2 separate regions of the Homo sapiens genome follow, and region 2 is linked to region 1. Evidence: promoter capture Hi-C in human tissues and cell types (Jung and others, 2019). All regions are on one chromosome and are shown on one strand. Each heading gives the region's core, a stretch centred on a gene start or on the middle of the fragment in contact. The rest is flanking DNA. Distances are from core to core; before and after follow the strand shown. Region 1 holds the start of C17orf58 (chromosome 17 open reading frame 58). Region 2 holds the start of MIR635 (microRNA 635).

The links. Contacts are between HindIII fragments. The study calls those that stand out against the background at their distance.
Region 2: a contact is called between a fragment that was not itself captured here and the fragment with the promoter of C17orf58 in region 1, in 1 of the 25 tissues and cell types used here (pancreas).

Annotation. Positions count from the first base shown.
Region 1 is chr17:67,994,482-67,998,749 of GRCh38, reverse strand. It overlaps C17orf58 (chromosome 17 open reading frame 58), which reads left to right and starts at 2,281. Exons shown (of 4, transcript NM_001382359.1): 1 at 2,281-2,627. The coding sequence starts at 2,552. RefSeq lists a silencer at 2,962-3,051. The HindIII fragment of the contact is 9,773 bases long and covers 2,076-4,268 here.
Region 2 is chr17:68,421,309-68,425,544 of GRCh38, reverse strand. It overlaps WIPI1 (WD repeat domain, phosphoinositide interacting 1), which reads left to right. Exons shown (of 13, transcript NM_017983.7): 13 at 3,725-4,236. The coding sequence ends at 3,772. It overlaps MIR635 (microRNA 635), which reads left to right and starts at 997; the gene lies at 997-1,094. It also overlaps a transcript of ARSG not described here and a transcript of PRKAR1A not described here. The HindIII fragment of the contact is 3,571 bases long and covers 1-3,305 here.

The sequences.
Region 1 (4,268 bases), core at 1,032-3,531:
GAAGGTATGTTAGAGATGTGGTTGTAACTGAGAAATCTTAAGCCTAGTGAATTTTATTCCACTTGACTTAAAGAAAGAGCACGTGAAAGAAGGGGATCTGAGGACATCTATAAACAGGGCCCCAAGGGCATGAATTTACTAGTGTTTATCTGGTCTTGTCTAGGGTCTGGAGACCCTGACTCTGGTATACCCAAGCTTTGCAGGGGCTGTAGAGGTTTACTCTTTTGGATGGAGAATATAATTCACTCCTCTAACACCTGAATGAGGGAAGATTAGCTCATCTCCTTAGCTGCAATTTGATTTAATGCTCAACAGGCAAATTTCTTTTCTTTTTTTTCTTTTTCTTTTTCTTTTTTTTTTTTTTTTTTTGAGACAGAGTCCTGTGCTGTTGCCCAGGCTGGAGTGTAGTGGCGCAGTCTTGGCTCACTGCAACTTCTGCCTCCTGGGTTCAAGCGATTCTCCTCCCTCAGCCTCCCAAGTAGCTGGGATTACAGGTGCCCGCCACCATGACTCGCTAATTTTTGTATTTTTAGTAGATATGGGGTTTTACTATGTTGGCCAGGCTGGTCTCGAACTCCTGACCTCGTGATCTGCCCACCTTGGCCTCCCAGAGTGTTGGGATTACAGGTTGAGCCACCGCACCCAGCCAGCAAATTTATTTTCTTTGATTTAATGCTCAACAGGCAAACTTCTTTCCTCCTCCTCCTCCTCTTCCTCCTCTCCTTCTTTTTTTTTTTTTTTTTTTTTTTTGAGACAGAGTCTCACTCTGTCACCCAGGCTGGAGGGCAGGGCAGTGGCGCCACACTGCAAGCTCCGCCTCCCAGGTTCACGCCAGTCTCCTGCCTCAGCCTCCTGAGTAGCTGGGACTACAGGCGCCCGCCACCACGCCCGGCTAATTTTTTGTATTTTCAGTAGAGACGGGGTTTCACTGTGTCAGCCAGGATGGTCTGGATCTCCTGGCCTCGTGATCGACCCACCTTGTCCTCCCAAAGTGCTGGGATTACAGGCGTGAGCCACCACACCTGGCCCTGCTCTCCTTCTTCTTCTTCTTCGTTCTCCTCCTCCTCCTCTTTTTTTTTTTCTTTTTGAGACAAAAGTCTCACTCTATCACCCAGGCTGGAGTGCAATGGCATAGTCTCAGCTCACTGCAACCTTTGCCTCCCAGGTTCAAGCGATTCTCCTGCCTCAGCCTCCTGAGTAGCTGGGACTACAGGTGTGTGCCACCACACCCTGCTAACTTTTTTGTAATTTTAGTAGAGACAGGGTTGCACTAATTTGGCCAGGCTGGTCTTGAACTCCTGACCTCGTGATCCGCCTGCCTTGGCCTCCCAAAATGCTGGGATTACAGGCGTGAGCCACTGTGCCTGGCTCCTCCTCTTTCTTTTCTTTCTTCTTCTTCTTCTTCTTCTTTTTTTTTTTTTTTTTTTTTTGAGACAGGGCCTCTCTCTGTCACCCAGGCTGGAGTGCAGTGGCACAATCTCGGCTCACTGCAACCTCCACCTCCTAGGCTCAAGTGATCCTCCCACCTCAGCCTCCCAAGTGGCTGGGACCACAGATGCGAGCCACCATGCCTGGCTAATTTTTGTATTTTTTGTAGAGACAGGTTCTCTCCATGTTGCTCAGGCTGGTCTTGAACTCCTGAGCTCAAGAGATCCTCCTGTCTCGGGCTCCCAAAGTACTGGGATTACAGGCATGAACCACCCTGCCTGGCCTCAACAGGCAACATTCTGATTAATAATTAGACCTCTGGGCCCGGCGTGGTGGCTCATGCTGTAATCCCAGCACTTTGGGAGGCCAAGGTGGGTGGATCACTTGAGGTCAGGAGTTTGAGACCAGCCTGGCCAACACGGTGAAATCCCGTCTCTGCTAAAAATACAAAAATTAGCCTCGCATGGTGGCATATGCCTGTAATCCCAGCTACTTGAGAGGCTGAGGCACGAGAATCGCTTTAGTCCGGGAGGCAGAGGTTACAATGAGCTGTGATATATAATGAAACAGTTTTACTAAGGAAGCAGTGACTTGGTTTCTCTAGAAATTGCCTAACACACACATTCCAGGATACATTCTCTGTCATCTGGAATCTCCCTTCCACAAACCCACGCTGTCTTAAGCACTATTTTCCTATTTGTTGTTGACCTAATCTAGAAAAAAGCTCCCGTCACTCGTTCTCCCCCACCCAGTCCCTCAGTCCCGAAACACGCTTATTCTCTGCACTTGTCACCCCACCCTTTGCTGCCCCCACCCCAGCGCGCAAACGCACACAGGTTTAAAGTTTAGGCTGTGATGCTCTCCTCGCCCGCAGATCACAGGACAGACATTCCCGGGGACAACTTTGCAAGGCCATGTGCTCGTCCTCCTTAGGAAGGAAGAGGGAGAAATCCCTGCGGCTCGGTTTTGTTCCAATGGTCTGCTCAGCGAGTGATTCCCGTTTCCCCAAAGGCTGCCCCTCATTAGCATGAACGGGGGTGGGGGTGTGGAGAAGGGGTTGGGGGAGAGAAAGCAAGCAAAAGACCAGGCTCACTTTTAGAGCCTGGGAACCCTGTCTGCAAAAATGACAGCTAGAGCTTTCTGGCTCCTCTGTTTGATCGTCGGATCATCCCCCGAAGCACCGGTGGCGGAGAGAAAAAGTAAGATTGGTGTAGTGCGGGGCCCTGGGAGCGGAGCGGGGATCTGTGGGGGGGAGCTGGGAAGGAGGCTCAGTGAAACGTGGGACGAGGAGGGGGGTCAGAGCTCGCAAGAGAGGACACCCCGGGTCTGCGTTCGTCTTATAAAGGAGCAAAGTGTGTCCCCAAGGTTTCGTGTCTCTTGGCAGCCTTTTCGGAAAGAAGCCAATTTAGCTACTGAAATGATCCCGAGCAAGCCGGGCAGGCTGGGGAAAACTTTGCATGTTAAGTAGTTGCTCCATCACGGAGGAGGGAAAGTGTCAAAAGGGGTCGTGGCGCGCCTTTCGGGAGCCGTGCCCGGGCCGGGCTCGCAGGACGCCGCGGGGTCCGCCCCCCTCGACTGGGTGAGCAGGGGCTGCGGGGGGCGCTGTGGAGGGCTGGGGGGAAGCGGGGCCGAAATCCGGCAGCCCCGGGCACTTTGCTCTCCCCGCAGCCCCAGCGCACAACCTTGGGACACCTGAGCCGGGGTTTAACTAACACGCACACACTCTTATACTTCATGCACGAAATGAAATTAAGTTACTCAGCCCGTGAAGAAATGAGGGGTTCTCTGGGGGATCGTGTTTTTGTTTTGCTTTTATTTGGATGTTCTGTCGGCTTCGCTATCTCTGGGAAAAACAGTTTCCGTACCTCACAGGGCAATTTACTCTGGGTTATTTTTCCACATGGAAATTGAATGACTTCAGTGGCATTTAACCCAAATATCAGACAATCTTTCCCATGACAACAGATGGTTATATCAATGGGGAAGCAGTTGTGAGGTCAACAGTTGACAGTCAGGAATTGGATATCCACCAGAACTTTATTCAGCTGTGCATGGCACAACCGTTTAACAACATAATGAGTCAGAATCAACCTCTTTGCAAAAACATGAACTCTAACCAGCTATTATTGCTGGGTGAAAGCTGATTTTAAAGCAGATTATCGATTTGGCAAGACTGATCAACTTTAAATGAAGTGTTGCCAGAGCTGCAAATGGGCAGATCCATCTCTTTAATGCAAGGGGAGAGAAAAATAAAGGCTAGTTCTTGCCTGTTTGGAGGGCACTGGGACCCAGGCAAGCAAGGAGGTGAAATTGTGTAACTGGTATGGAAAGGTGCCCAGCTCCCAAGCTGGCTGAGGTTTACTCACCAACCTGTCTGCAGAACTAGGGAAAATCATTAATAATTTTAAAAATTTGTTTTCATGCCATACCATTTAGGAGTCTTTCCTCCATCATCTAATGGGGAAAAAAATGTAAGCGACGTGTGCTTTTATACTTAACCAGGGGCCTCTCTGCCTCCCAGCCAAGCTTTTAAAACCTTCCTTAGCTGTGGTTTACCAGTAAGTGGTGTCCAAGAAGCCAGATAAAAATCCACTTACAAATGCTCGATTCTGCAGAGACCGGGATGACAGTGTAAACATGGATGGGAAAACCAAATAGTTCTGTTGTCAGGGGCGCTTAAAGAATTAGGAGAACCTGTAATATGAGACCTTTCCCCCTGGGGTTTGCTCTTGGTACTTTCTCAACAAACTGTAAATAGCAAAGAGGCGGATGTTTATATATGTTTTATATATATATATATATATACACACACACACACACACACACACGCACACGCACAC
Region 2 (4,236 bases), core at 271-2,770, 430 kb before region 1:
GCAGACACTCATTAAGAAACAAGTGGCCGGGTGCGGTGGCTCACACCTGTAATCCCAGCACTTTGGGAGGCCGAGGCTGGAGGATTGCTTGAGCCCAGGAGTTAGAGACCAGCCTGGGCAACACAGCAAAACCCCATCTCCACCAAAAAAAAAAAAAAAAAAGAAAAGAAAAAATTAGCCGGGTGTGGTGTCACGTGCCTGTAGTCCCAGCTATTCGGGACGCTGAGATGGGAGGATCACCTGAGCCTGGGAGGTCGAGGCTGCAGTGAGCTCTGATTGTGCCACTGCACTCCAGCCTAGGTGAAAGAGTGAGACTCTATCTCAAAAAGAAAAGAAAAGCAATTGTGTGCTCTGTGGAGGGCAGCAGGTGCAGGGCAGGAGCTTGCCCGAGCACCTTTAGCTGGGTTTCCCAGCAACCTGCTCAGCCTGTTCCCACAGCTAGGGCCCTCGGGGCTGGCTGAGTGCTGGGCGTGGCTTCTTCCATCACCTGGAACTGAAGACAAGATTCCCTCCTGAGAGCCTGCTGGGGCTTCCTTAACTGCTGATTCTTCAGGCTCCCATCTGGAGTAACATATAGACCGCTCTTGTGAGCTTCAGTCAAAACATCCCAGATAGTCAACCTGAAATCATTTCGAGATGGAAGTACTGATTTGTTTTGTTTTGTTTTTGAGACGGAGTCTTGCTCTGTCACCCAGGCTGGAGTGCAGTGGTGTGATCTCGGCTCGCTGCAGCCTCTGCCTCCTGGGTTCAAGCAATTCTCCTGCCTCAGCCTCCCGAGTAGCTGCAATTACAGATGTGCGCCACCATGCCCAACTAATATTTTGTATTTTTAGTAGAGACGGGGTTTCACCATGTTGGTCACGCTGGTCTCAAACTCCTGACCTCAAGTGATCCACTCGTCTCGGCCTCCCAAAGTGCTAGGATTACAGGCGTGAACCGCCGCACCCGGCCGGAAGTAGTGTTTGGGCCAAGACTTGGAGCATCAGCTCCTAGAGCCAGAGAGGAGCTGCCACTTGGGCACTGAAACAATGTCCATTAGGCTTTGTTATGGAAACTTCTCCTGATCATTGTTTTGTGTCCATTGAGCTTCCAATTGTAAAAGGATGGAGTGCAGGTCTGGCTTCTTTCTCCCGCAGATCCGTGGAACCCTCTAGTGAGCACATTTGGCTTAGAAAACAAAGCTGCGGTGGGGCCCTGCATGCAGGGCTGGGGCTGTTGTTTTGTGATTTCCCACATCGGCTCTGCGGGTCGGTCGCAGCGTGAGCTTTTACATTTCTGGCTTTCAATAGGCAGGTTGTCAGAGACGTGGCTGGCAAGTGAAGTTTATATCTCAGTGGCGGAGAGCAGTTGTTCTTAAAAATACTAATTATAAACTTCAAAACCTCTGTTGGCATGCTGCCTAACTATAAACCAGTTGTTTTACCTTTGGGTTCTCATGGCCCCAACTGGCCTTAAAGGGCGTTCTTCTGCACCCTCAAGAGGCGGTGGTTATTTACCTGAAGTCGAGGCTTCCAGGATCCAGAGCACTCTAGGTCAGACACCGTGGGGACAAATGTGACCATTCTACTCTGTCAGGGTTTACCACATCCAGACACTCACTAGGTTCCGTTTCACTAATTTTGGTAAAAGTCTGTAACTACTATAAAATATTATTAGATTCTTAATTGTAATCGCAGTAAGCCTTGCAACCTCTTATAGTTACAGAATTGGGGTAATGTGGATATTAGTATCTAGGAGGTAGTTCCTTGCCAAAGAACCTGTATAAAATAATAGGTACCTTGTGCAGATCATTTATTTGGGGTAAAAAGGAAAAGGGGAGGTGCTTAATTGAAGAACCAGTAAGAAAGTTTGTCCTGAGGCCTGTGTGCCCATTCAGTGCCAGGAAGCTGGGCATGAGCCAGTTGTTTCTTCTCCCTCCTAAGGACCAAATGAGTGAAAGTTGGTTGAAATTGCATCAGGAATTCTTATTTATACGCAAGAAATACTTCCTGCCAGTGAGAGTGGTCACTGAACAAGGTCCCTAGAACAGGTGTTAGACCCTTGTGAGTGTCAAGCAGCCCCTGTGTGCAGGGCTGTGTCGTGGCAGCCACCAACCTCTCAGTCTGCCCTCCAGCCTGCAGGTAGATGGTGATGAGGGGCAGTGCTCCCACTAAGGCACTGTCTCAGTAGCAGGCAGGCTTCTCCATCTCACCATGTAAGGACCAGAGGCATGCATGCTCCTGGGATGCTCTATCAATATGGCCCATCTCAGTCATGCCTGAATTGGCAGAAATGTTCAGCGAGGGATGCTAGGGAACTTCCTCTCTGTCTCCTTATTCTGAATTGTCATGCCTATTGCAAATCTCTGTGCAGAATTCACATCTTTACTCACATTCCTTAAAATCTTCTAGGACCACAAAAGGCTCTTGGAGTCTCAGCTTGGTTAAAATCGCCTCTCTTGTAGTGACGAACAAACATAGGCTTGCCTGAGTAGTCTGCTACAGGAGCTCTGTGAGCCGCTGCCTTAAGAACGCGGGTCATCACTAGTGATCTTTTCAGAACACATACTGACACTTCCCTGCGTAGGATCACGCTTGCCTCCTTGGGATTTACTTTTGCTCTGAGAGCAGTGAAAGAAAAGAGACTTGATCATTTCTGGTGCCTTAGAAAGCTGCTACATTCGGGAGGATGAGAAGCTTTTGTTTCAGGAACAAGCCAACCTGTACAAGTCTCTGTATTTTGTGAGACTAGTCCCAATCTTGTGAGCAAGAGTCAGGAAATCAGGCCCAAGGGTATAAACTGACCTTCCCTTTTTTTTTTTTTTTTTTTTTTTTGAGATGATAGAGTCTCACTCTGTCCCTCAGGCTAGAATGTGTTGGCGTGATCTCCACTCACTGCAACCTCCACCTCCTAGGTTCAAGTGATTCTAGTGCCTCAGCCTCCCAAGTAGCTGGGGTTTCAGGCATGCTACCATGCCCAGCTAAATTTTGTATTTTTAGTAGAGACAGGATTTCACCATGTTGGCCAGGCTGGTCTCAAACTCCTGACCTCAGGTGATCACCCCCCTCAGCCTCCTAAAGTGCTGGGATTACAGGTGTGAGCCACTGCGCCCAGCCTAAACTGACTTTTTTTTTTTTGAGATGGAGTCTTGCTCCATCGCCCAGGCTGGAGTGCAGTGGTGCGATCTCGGCTCACTGCAGCCTCCACCTCCCCGGTTCAAGCGATTCTCTCCTGCCTCAGCCTCCCGAGTAGCTGGGATTACAGGTGAGCGCCACCATGCCCGGCTAATTTTTGTATTTTTTAGTAGCGATGGGGTTTCACCATGTTGGCCAGGCTGGTCTCAAACTCCTGACCTAGTGATCCACCCACCTCAGCCTCCCAAAGTTCTGGGATTACAGGCGTGAGCCACCGCGCCCAGCCTAAACTGACTTTTTAATAGTGATTGAGCAGTCCATGTTTACAAGTAAGATGAGCCTTTTAAAAATATATACATATACATATAAATACATACACACACACACAGAGACATTTTTATAGTCAGTATTTTCTAGAACTGTGTCATACTTGTCTACACCTAAATAAGCTGGGTGACCATTCTGTGGCCATGAGCGAGTTCAGACAGAAAAATTCCACAGTGCCCAGCCTCTCCCTGCTCACTCTGCATGGGCACAGACCTGTTGATAATGCACCTGCCTACCAGCCTCTTCCTGAGAAGAGTAAGGCCATTCTGTTTTGATTTTGGTAGATAATCTTGTGCCGTGGAAATCAGAAGGGCAAAACGAAGCAGTCATGATGAGAAGCACACCTCAGAAATCAGGACATCCCCCCTATCAGGTGGTTTTGGAGAAAACAAGGAAGGCGGAAGAATGGAGTGCAATTGTGTGAGCAGAAAGGGGGGCAGGAATCCCGGGTGCTCCACTGCTTAAACCACAGGACCTGGTTAACTCCTCACCAAGCTTCCCACGACCCTGGTTGCCAATGGGCGCGGGAGACATTGTATACACATCATGCTATTTAAAATACGTTCAAACTATAGTGTAAATGCTAATTAACCATATTGGTATATAACCGGAATTTTATATTAAAAGGGGCCTCCTTTTTAAATATATGCCGTGTAAAAAATGTACTTATAGGAACATCTCTTTGAATTGTATTTCTTGTATATTACATACTTAGAGAGAGACTCTTTTAGCCAGGCAAAGTCTTTTTTGGCTGTGGCTGGAATAAATCATTTATTACTTGGGAGTCCCATTTTGG